Linked DNA regions of Homo sapiens: regions 1 and 3 are each linked to region 2. The links are contacts of gene promoters, found by promoter capture Hi-C in blood cells and fetal thymus (Javierre and others, 2016). All regions are on one chromosome and are shown on one strand. The core of a region is centred on a gene start or on the middle of the fragment in contact, and the rest is flanking DNA. Distances in the headings are between cores, read along the strand shown. Region 1 overlaps RAB5C (RAB5C, member RAS oncogene family). Region 2 holds the start of CAVIN1 (caveolae associated protein 1). Region 3 holds the start of DHX58 (DExH-box helicase 58).

The links. The method cuts DNA at HindIII sites, captures the fragments that hold promoters and counts their contacts. A CHiCAGO score of 5 or more calls a contact.
Region 1: a fragment that was not itself captured here is called in contact with the fragment with the promoter of CAVIN1 in region 2 in 1 of 17 cell types (activated CD4 T cells); the score reaches 5.1 in activated CD4 T cells.
Region 3: a contact is called between the fragment with the promoter of DHX58 here and the fragment with the promoter of CAVIN1 in region 2, in 1 of 17 cell types (fetal thymus). The highest score is 6.0, in fetal thymus.

Annotation. Positions count from the first base shown.
Region 1 is chr17:42,128,932-42,132,138 of GRCh38, reverse strand. RAB5C (RAB5C, member RAS oncogene family) reads left to right here. Exons shown (of 6, transcript NM_004583.4): 2 at 1,549-1,802. The coding sequence starts at 1,637. Among named protein-coding and RNA genes, the nearest start is that of HSPB9, 7.7 kb to the right of the region's middle. The HindIII fragment of the contact is 4,670 bases long and covers 1-3,207 here.
Region 2 is chr17:42,421,100-42,424,560 of GRCh38, reverse strand. CAVIN1 (caveolae associated protein 1) reads left to right here and starts at 1,305. Exons shown (of 2, transcript NM_012232.6): 1 at 1,305-1,934. The coding sequence starts at 1,464. It overlaps LOC102725238 (a long non-coding RNA gene), which reads right to left and starts at 1,373. Exons shown (of 4, transcript XR_007065758.1): 1 at 1,289-1,373. The HindIII fragment of the contact is 2,664 bases long and covers 816-3,461 here.
Region 3 is chr17:42,110,682-42,114,129 of GRCh38, reverse strand. It overlaps DHX58 (DExH-box helicase 58), which reads left to right and starts at 1,416. Exons shown (of 14, transcript NM_024119.3): 1 at 1,416-1,525; 2 at 1,925-2,017; 3 at 2,237-2,405; 4 at 2,633-2,834; 5 at 3,217-3,407. The coding sequence starts at 2,238. It overlaps KAT2A (lysine acetyltransferase 2A), which reads left to right. Exons shown (of 18, transcript NM_021078.3): 17 at 46-130; 18 at 288-1,019. The coding sequence ends at 481. RefSeq lists enhancers at 1,049-1,568, 1,809-1,908. The HindIII fragment of the contact is 8,851 bases long and covers 1,005-3,448 here.

The sequences.
Region 1 (3,207 bases), core at 406-2,905, 290 kb after region 2:
AGCTTCTTGCATGAATGTGGACCATTTGCTTCCCACAGATACCTCCTGTTCATCCACATTGCTGTCCCTTAACCATGAGGGAATGTACTTCCCTTGCTCAGGGGCAGATCGGGGCTCTCCCTGGGATCTTAGACTCCATTATGCAAAGGGCAGCCTAATAAAAACCTTTTCTTTCCAACCCAGGTTCAAATGCTGAACAGTGTTCAGTACTTAATACCTACTCACAGGACCTGTTTGTAAAACATTCTGTATATATTCTGATGTCTGTTGACATCAGATGTATATGTCTGATGAGACATCCACTTATGTCTTCTAGAGGCTTCTAGAGATAGGCTCCTCATGTGTCTGCAATTCCAAAACTTAACAAAAACAAAAAGTTGAGCCTCTGAAGCTGTCACTAACCAAGTGATTCAGATGTCGGGACTGGAACACCAGCTGTTGGGGATGCAGGACTTGGTCTCTGCCCTCCCACACCTCCTGCCTCTTCTTTCTCTCCATCGCCCCATCTCTGCCAGTAGAGAATGGAACTGAGGTCTCTATTGAAAAAGGGAAAGTTGGTAGCTGTGCTGACTGTGGCAGAGCTATGACTTTGGTGTGTGTTTCTGTGTGTGTTTGTTTCGGTGTGTGTTTTGTTTTGGTGTCTGTTTTGGTGTGTATTTCTGTGTGTGTGTTGGCATGTGTTTTTGTGTGTGTGTGTGTGTGTTTCAGTGTGTATTTGTTCCGGTGTGTGTGTTTCTGTGTGTGTTTGTGTGTGTGTATCGGTGTGTGTTTTACTATGTGTTTGTTTCTGTGTGTGTTTTGTTTTTTAATGGGTGCGAGACTTTGGCCCATCAAAAATGAGAGAACTAGGGAAGAAGGATCAGGATGAGAGAGTGAAACATTGCTTTGATTCTGGTGCACAGAGGCACACAGTCCAGCCCTAGACTGAAAGTCGGTCAGTCCTTCTGAAGGTGGCAGGAGAAAAATGGCTATGTTAATAACAACTTGTGCTGGCCAGGCCCTGGTCCCTGAATGGCCATGAGGTTGGCCAAGCACCTTCTCTGAGGAGCTTTCTACCAGGACCTCTTGGGCCCCTGTCTGCCTCACCACTGTGGTCCTGGCTACCAGACTGGAACTTCATTATTGATCTAAATCCTAGTGTCTTCCTGAGCTTTTGTTTTGTTTTGTTTTGTTTTAATTTTGCCCCAAAAGCCTGTTGACTTAACTGTCACCAGGCTGTCACACATTCATTCATCGCCTGTGTGTGTTTATTTGTAGGTGAATGTACATATTTGGGATCCAGAAGTCAATGTGTTTGCTCAGAACCATGAGCCTGAAGTTGGGAGACCATTCTCCTCTTTACAGCTCAGATGGTGGTAGAGCCGGTAGACATCTAGTATAGCCCAGTGGGGCCTCCTGACCTCTAGTGGGGAGGGCAGGGAGGTGAGGTGAGGGGAAGCAGTCAGCTAGGTCTTCAGTGAGGCCAGAGGGAAAGATCTGTAATTTAAGAAGGACACAGCGGGTGACGGCCTCTGAACTAACTCAGTACTTCTCATTTCTCCCTTACAGTTGGAGGTCCCCCTCCCCACTAAGTGCCTCTTTGCATAGCACCAGTCCCCACCCGCACGCTCTCTGGACCACTACAGCTGGACGGGCAATGGCGGGTCGGGGAGGCGCAGCACGACCCAATGGACCAGCTGCTGGGAACAAGATCTGTCAATTTAAGCTGGTTCTGCTGGGGGAGTCTGCGGTAGGCAAATCCAGCCTCGTCCTCCGCTTTGTCAAGGGACAGTTTCACGAGTACCAGGAGAGCACAATTGGAGGTGAGTGGGCATGAGGGAGTCGGGGAGGGGCCTGAAGGTTGCCAAAGAAATGCTTTGACCTTGAGGAGATGGGAAGCTGCCTGCCTGCATTAGGGACTAAATGCGTCTGTGGTGGCAGCCCCACTTCCTCACCTGGGCCCTGGAATTGAGCCCAGCAACTGGTCTCCATGCCAGAGTCCCCTCAAGCATCGCTAGTAAGCATTTGCTGGGAGTGGAAAGCTAGCTTCCCATCCTGTTTCTGCCCCTTCTTGATCTGTGTGGCCTTGGCTGAGGCCCTTTCACTGCCCTGGCCTCATGGAGGGAGAGCTGACTCTGGATCTTTGAGGCCCCTTCTTACTATAATGGGTGGTCCATGTGCCCTGGCCTTTCCCACTTCCAGAAGAAGGAACAGCCTGGTGAGTCGGAGCTGGGTGATAGGTGGGTGTTTCTGAAGCTGACTTTACCCTTTCTGGAGCTCACAGCCTGTTGTTGATTTTCCAGTGGTCAGCATTTAGGATGTGAGTGAGGGTCTGGCCTCGGCCTCTTGCCTCCGTGGCTAACACACACATCAAGAGGCAGGGGCCAACGCTGGCCTTGGCCTTGAGTCATCCTTTCTCTACTCTCTTGGTAGGAGGTTTCTAGGCAGCTGGAAACAAAATGGGCCATGTCAGCAGTCTCCCTGCTGCCTCCTCAGCATTTGGGTCAGGAGCTGGAGAGGGGAAGTGAGGCAGTGCCCCATGTCCCTCAGTGAGCTGGGGGAGGGCAGACCAGGAAAGCAGCCTTCTACACATGGCTGTCCTGGGTTCTCTGCTGGGTCCAGGGGCAAAGGGGCCTTTTGCTGTCTGTCCCAGCTCTGGACTCCTCCTTTGAAGCATGTGTACAGGCACCCTGCATTCCCCTAAGGAGTCACCTCTTAGTGACTGAAGGTCAGGTCACAGGGTGGCCATACAGGAACAGGTCTGGGTCAGAGCTAGGGGCGGTGGCTAGCTGGAGTGCCTGGAGGTGGTAGGGGTGGTTGGGAAGCCGGCCACCCAGCCTCAGCCTGGTGGTGGAACAGTGTGTACTTCCCCAGCATAGCTAAGTGTGTGAGAATGTCCTTAGGAAACCCAAGGTCAGTGACACCCCTGGGCTGGAGCAAACTGAGGGGTGGAGCGGTCCCTAGCTGCTGGTCTGTTCTCTGAGTGGCGGAGGAGGAGGTCTGAGGGCGCTCACCCTTCTGTGCTTGGAGTAGGCTTCCCCTAGGCTTTCCCTCTCTTGCCCCTGCTGTGTTGCTCTTCAGAGAGTGGTCCTGAGATGGCTCAGTGCATGCAGGAGTCCCTTCTCCTGCCGTTGCCTGGGCTGGGTCTGCAAAGCCTGTGCAGACCCCGTCCCCCAGACACATACATAAAAATCCAAACTCCACCCCCCACTCAGGCCTGCTTTGGCT
Region 2 (3,461 bases), core at 56-2,555:
AGTGATTCTCCTGCCTCAGCCTCCCGAATAGCTGGGATTACAGGCATGCGCCACCACGCCTGGCTAATTTTGTATTTTTAGTAGAGATGGGGTTTCTCCATGTTGGTCAGGCTGAGGTCGAACTCCCGACCTCAGGTGATCCACCCACCTCCGCCTCCCAAAATGAGCCACTGCGCCTGGCCTAATTTTTGTATTTGTAACAGAGACGGGGTTTCACCATCTTGGGCCAGGCTGGTCTTGAACTCCTGACCTCGTGATCCACCCGCCTGGGCCTCCCAAAGTGCTGGGATTACAGGCATGAGCCACCGCGCCTGGCCTAAGAGAGGTGGGCTTTTAAAAAGGGCTTTACACCAGGCGCGGTGGCTCCCAGCACTTTGAGAGGCTGAAACCAGCAGATCACTTGAGCTCAGGAGTTCGAGACCAGCCTGGTCAAAATAGTGTACACCCCGTCTCTTAAAAAAATAAAAATTGAAAAAAATAAAAATTGAAATTAGCTGGGCGTGGTGGCAAGCGCCTATAGTCTCATCTACTCAGGAGGCTGAAGTGGGAGGATTGCCTGAGCCCAAGAGGTCGAGGCTGCAGTGAACTGTGATCAGACCGCTGCACTCCAGCCTGGGTGACAGAGTGACACCCTGTCTCAGAAAGGGGGGTTGGGAGGTGGGCTTTATTTTCCGTTTGATTGCCCATCTTAATTCTACTCTGTTAGGGCAATTCTAAAAAGAACTTAGAGGAGCTTCGCAGCCCTTCACCACCACCGTGACCCCAAATACGTTCTCTCTTTCTCCCCCCGCCCCCCACAAACAACCCCCTAAGCTTACCCCTGAGTTAGTAACCTGGTTGGGGTTGGTGATGAGGAAATCCGAGAGGCCTCTTAGAAAATATTGTAAAGGGCAAGGGTCCTTTTGTGCTCAAAATCTAGGTAAAGGCAAATACAAGATTTTGCCTATAATTTCAGAATCTCCTGGTCCACCCGGCTCCCAGATCTTGAGGATTTTCGGATGAGCAATTCAAGTGAGAGGGAAACAGAGAGCAACACTCTTAGAACCTGATTCCGTTCCTCAGCTCGCATTCCTCCGCCCGTCCCGCTCCCGCCGCCAGCGGAGGCCCTAGTCTCCCGCTCCAACTATTCCAACCATCCCGGGAAGGGTGGGGCGCTCGGCTCTTGGGTCCCCCTCCGCCGCCCCGCCTCGTCGATCTCCCCTTCTGCCCCGGTCCCTCCCTTTCTGGGGTGGGGCCAGCCAATCAGCGATCAGACTCCGGAGTTTGGCCCGGGAGCTGGGGAGCTCACCGATCCCCCGCCCAGCAGTTCTGGCCGCTGTCCCGGTGCGCACGGACGTGGCTCGAGTTTCCTCTGCTCTCCGCTCTCGCCCGCTAGCTCTCCTCCCTTCCGCTCCTGCTTCTCTCCGGGTCTCCCGCTCCAGCTCCAGCCCCACCCGGCCGGTCCCGCACGGCTCCGGGTAGCCATGGAGGACCCCACGCTCTATATTGTCGAGCGGCCGCTTCCCGGGTACCCCGACGCCGAGGCCCCGGAGCCTTCCTCCGCTGGGGCTCAGGCAGCGGAGGAGCCGTCGGGGGCCGGCTCAGAAGAGCTGATCAAGTCGGACCAGGTGAACGGCGTGCTGGTGCTGAGCCTCCTGGACAAAATCATCGGGGCCGTAGACCAGATCCAGCTGACTCAAGCACAGCTGGAGGAGCGGCAGGCGGAGATGGAGGGCGCAGTGCAGAGCATCCAGGGCGAGCTGAGCAAGCTGGGCAAGGCGCACGCCACCACGAGCAATACGGTGAGCAAGCTGCTGGAGAAGGTGCGCAAGGTCAGCGTCAACGTGAAGACCGTGCGCGGCAGCCTGGAGCGCCAGGCGGGGCAGATCAAGAAGCTGGAGGTCAACGAGGCCGAGCTGCTGCGGCGCCGCAACTTTAAAGTCATGATCTACCAGGTGAGCCCACAGGGCGGAAGGCGCCCAGAGCTCCCGCGCCCGGCCCGCGTCCCCTGCCTGGGAGTTGGGGTGGGGAGACCTGCCCGTGGCGCTGCTCCCCTCCCAGCCTGGCCCGGGCGCCCGGCAGATCCACCCTCCTTCCGGTGAGCGCGGCTGGGGTGGGGTTGGGTGGGGTAGGATGGGGTGGAGGGAGCGGCGGACTCCTGGGGCGCGTAGAGGGGCGCGCTCTGCACCTCGCACCTCCCCACTCAGATCCTTCCCTCGGGTCCCAAACTTGTAGCAGAACCGAATTAGCGGGTGGACTCGAGGACGCTGCCCCTCGCAGACCGCTCCCTCCCTAATTGGCTCTGTCAAACTTCTTCCTACTTGGGGGAAGTTTCTAGGAAAGTCAGGGGTCCCTCGCGATCGTTGGGGTCCGCTGTAAGCGGACACTGGCTGCGGGGCCCGGGCCTGGGGCCTCTGCGCCTGCGGGCCTGATATAGCGGGTGATTCAGGGCTCAGGCACGCACCAGCGGGGGCTGTGCCAAGCGGGGAACGCGACCGCCAACCTCCTCCCCAGACCCTGCGCCCCCGCGCCCCCACATCGGCCTCGGCGGCCCACCCCTGTCCCCTCGCTGCTCTCTGCTCCTGGCCACCAGGCATTTTCAGGCCCTTGAGGACACCCTCACCCGCGGCGCGCTGGCACCCTGGGCCTCCTGGAAGCGGGCGGGGCTGGGCGGGGAAGAGTGGGCGTCAGGAGTGCAAGAGGGGCTGGTGGAGTGGGTGGACAGCCCCTGCGGGGTCCGGCGGTCTGGGCGCAGTCTGGGCGAGGTGAATCACCCCGCATGCCTGCGGGGGCGGGGGCCAGGCGCAGCAGCGCAGCCGGCGGGAGGAGGCTGGCGCCCCCACCCCCCGGCTCCGCCCGGGGCCACTTGTTGCTTTCTTTGCAGCTCTCCCCATTCTTCACACTTGGATAAAAATGTAGCTTTTGGATCATAACCCCCAATAAACCTGGGAGTCTCGGGTTTCTATGCTGCTCCTCTCCACGCCGCTTCCGCAGTGCCATCGGGGATGAGATTTTGGGCTGGGCGGCAAGTGTTCCAGCCTGGCTCCTCCCCGCCTCCCAAAGGCCTGCTGATGCTCCTAACCCCAGGGAGGCGGGATCGTGTGGGGCAGGGGGGTTAGTCTATGCTCCCCTCTCCCCTTCCTCTCCCTGCTGAAGGGAATGGAAAGAAAGGGAAGGCTGGATTTCCCACACCCTCCAAGTTAGAAGACCCCTTTCCGGGAGTTGTGGCTCTGCTGACTGCTCTGGGGCCTGGTCGAGCCGGGTTCTGAGTGACCATCTGGGGTGAGGCGAGGGGGTCCTTGGCTTGGTTTCCCCAGGAGGAGTTAAGATAGATGCAAATCAGGACAAGTATCTGGGAAGAGTAGAGACAGAAAGGTGGGTCAGCTGGTACCTATCTGAGGTGGTGGGACAGAGGCAGAAGTGGCACTTGTCCCCCTCCCCACCCTTACCCACGGATGACAGACTCCTCCCAGGAGGCATAT
Region 3 (3,448 bases), core at 167-2,666, 310 kb after region 2:
GCGTGGGCGCAGCAGGGCTGTCCCCAGCCCGGCTCTTCTCTCCAGTCTCACCCCAGTGCCTGGCCCTTCATGGAGCCTGTGAAGAAGTCGGAGGCCCCTGACTACTACGAGGTCATCCGCTTCCCCATTGGTGAGGACCTTCCATTCCATCCCCTTCCCTCCTCTTCTGTCCCCACACCTGCTCCTGCCCTCACTGCGCCCTGCAGCCCCAGGGGGCCCACCCTGGTGGACAGCCCTGCCGTGGTCTTCAGCCTCTTAAAGCTGTGCTCCGTCTCCTGCTGCCCCAGACCTGAAGACCATGACTGAGCGGCTGCGAAGCCGCTACTACGTGACCCGGAAGCTCTTTGTGGCCGACCTGCAGCGGGTCATCGCCAACTGTCGCGAGTACAACCCCCCGGACAGCGAGTACTGCCGCTGTGCCAGCGCCCTGGAGAAGTTCTTCTACTTCAAGCTCAAGGAGGGAGGCCTCATTGACAAGTAGGCCCATCTTTGGGCCGCAGCCCTGACCTGGAATGTCTCCACCTCGGATTCTGATCTGATCCTTAGGGGGTGCCCTGGCCCCACGGACCCGACTCAGCTTGAGACACTCCAGCCAAGGGTCCTCCGGACCCGATCCTGCAGCTCTTTCTGGACCTTCAGGCACCCCCAAGCGTGCAGCTCTGTCCCAGCCTTCACTGTGTGTGAGAGGTCTCCTGGGTTGGGGCCCAGCCCCTCTAGAGTAGCTGGTGGCCAGGGATGAACCTTGCCCAGCCGTGGTGGCCCCCAGGCCTGGTCCCCAAGAGCTTTGGAGGCTTGGATTCCTGGGCCTGGCCCAGGTGGCTGTTTCCCTGAGGACCAGAACTGCTCATTTTAGCTTGAGTGATGGCTTCAGGGGTTGGAAGTTCAGCCCAAACTGAAGGGGGCCATGCCTTGTCCAGCACTGTTCTGTCAGTCTCCCCCAGGGGTGGGGGGTATGGGGACCATTCATTCCCTGGCATTAATCCCTTAGAGGGAATAATAAAGCTTTTTATTTCTCTGTGTGATTGTTTCTTTGGTGTAGTCCCAGCCTTAGCAGGCTCACCTTGGCCCCCAGGGACCTCTTGCAAACTGGAGGCTGCTCTCCCCAGCAAGCCTCAGGCCTGGTCCTGTGCTCCTGGGGTGATGGGTCCTACCTGCCTGCAGCCCCCCACCTCTCCCTCCTCCAGGCTGCTCCTGATCCAGATGCCAGGGCAGCAGGGGTCAGAACCTCCTGCCTTCACCTTAACCTGGGTGGATGTGGTTACAACTGACTGCAGAAGGGCCAGAGCGTAGAGGATCCTGTAGCACTGAAAGAGTGCTTCCCTGTTAGCACACGTGGTTCTTTTTCTTGGGGCAGGGATAGGAGATTCGTAAGTCGGCTCAGCTGGCTCCTCCCCTCAGTTTCAGTTTCCATTTCTGATTTCTGCTCTCTGCGCTGAGCACAGCGGCACCAGGCTGAGCTAAGCAGGGCCGCCTTGGGCAGGCCTACGTGGTGGTGCAGGCGAGACCCAGGCTGGGCAAGGCGCAGGTGTAGCCTGTGTTACTCCCACCCCCCCCCACCCCCACCTTTTGGCCACAGCAGGCTTCTGATGAGTTTTGAGGGTGTCCCCCCCCCCACCTCCCTCAAGTGGGGTGGAGTCCTGGGCAAAGGGAGGTCTCTGTACCGACTGCTCTGGCCAGGAGTTGGGATGAGTGGAGGGCCCAGTGGGTCTGAGTCCCCTGCCATTCCCAGAATGGAGCTGTGGCCCTACCAATGGGAGGTGATCATGCCTGCCAGGGCGCTGGCGCAGCAGCAGTACTTAACCGGAGTTTGTACTCACGGCAGTTGGCGATGACTGTTAGCACAAACGGTTCTTTTCTCTTGGTTCTTTTTCCTGGGGCGGGGATGGGAGATTCCTAAGTCGGCTCAGCTGGCTCCTTCCCTCAGTTTCAGTTTCCATCTTGGGTCTCTGAGCTGAGCAGAGTGGCACCAGGCTGAGTTAAGTGGGACTGCCCTGGGCAGACCTACCTACTAGAGCAGGTGAGTCCTGGGCTGGGCAGGGGGCAGGTGTAGCCTGTGTTACTCCCGCCTCCCCCTTTTGGGCAGAGCAGGGTCCTGATGGGTTCTGAGGGAGTCCTGCCCCACCTCCCTCAAGTGGGGTGGAGTCCTGGGCAAAGGGAGGTCTCTGTACTGACTGGTCTGGCCAGGAGTTGGGAGGGGTGGAGGAGTCGGTGGGTCTGAGTCCCCTGCCATTCCCAGAATGGAGCTTCGGTCCTACCAATGGGAGGTGATCATGCCTGCCCTGGAGGGCAAGAATATCATCATCTGGCTGCCCACGGGTGCCGGGAAGACCCGGGCGGCTGCTTATGTGGCCAAGCGGCACCTAGAGACTGTGGATGGAGCCAAGGTGGTTGTATTGGTCAACAGGGTGAGTGGTCTGTCCCTACCCCGCTCTCCCACCACCAAGCAGGGTCTTAGCTCTTCAGGCATCTCCCAGTCCCCACCAGAACTCCAAAGCTGCTGTGGCCATCGCTAAGCTCACCTGTCTTTCCACCCTGGCTCAGTACCCAGCCATGTCCTGCGGGTCACCTTACCGCCTCCCTACCCCTGGCCCCAGATTCAGCTCTCTTTTCCCAGCTCATTCTCCACCCCCAGGTGCACCTGGTGACCCAGCATGGTGAAGAGTTCAGGCGCATGCTGGATGGACGCTGGACCGTGACAACCCTGAGTGGGGACATGGGACCACGTGCTGGCTTTGGCCACCTGGCCCGGTGCCATGACCTGCTCATCTGCACAGCAGAGCTTCTGCAGATGGCACTGACCAGCCCCGAGGAGGAGGAGCACGTGGAGCTCACTGGTGAGGGCCATGGCCGGGAGGAAAAAGATACGCATCTGGGGTACCTCCTTTCGCCAACCCCAGGGCACCTCCTGGAGTCAAGGTGTTGGGAGTTTTAGTGGGAGTGAGGGGTTGCCTGTTCACAAAACCCCTGCAGGCACTCTAGTAGAAACAGGCCGGGCTATCGTGTAGGATCTTAGGCCAGTCCCTTCCCCAGCTGAGCCTCGGTTTACTAATCTGTGAAATGGAAAGAAGTCTTCCCTGCCTGGCTCCTCATCCTGGGACCAGCTGCAGGTTGTGAAGGGAAGAAGGAATTCTTACATCATTGTGGGGACTACTTGAAAGCTGATGGGAGGAAGGGCTTTGCAAACATAGGTCACAGCCTTCCCCCCTGTGCCCTCAGTCTTCTCCCTGATCGTGGTGGATGAGTGCCACCACACGCACAAGGACACCGTCTACAACGTCATCATGAGCCAGTACCTAGAACTTAAACTCCAGAGGGCACAGCCGCTACCCCAGGTGCTGGGTCTCACAGCCTCCCCAGGCACTGGCGGGGCCTCCAAACTCGATGGGGCCATCAACCACGTCCTGCAGGTCAGCCTGGCCCCTGTGGGCCTCCCACTGCCAGACCCACC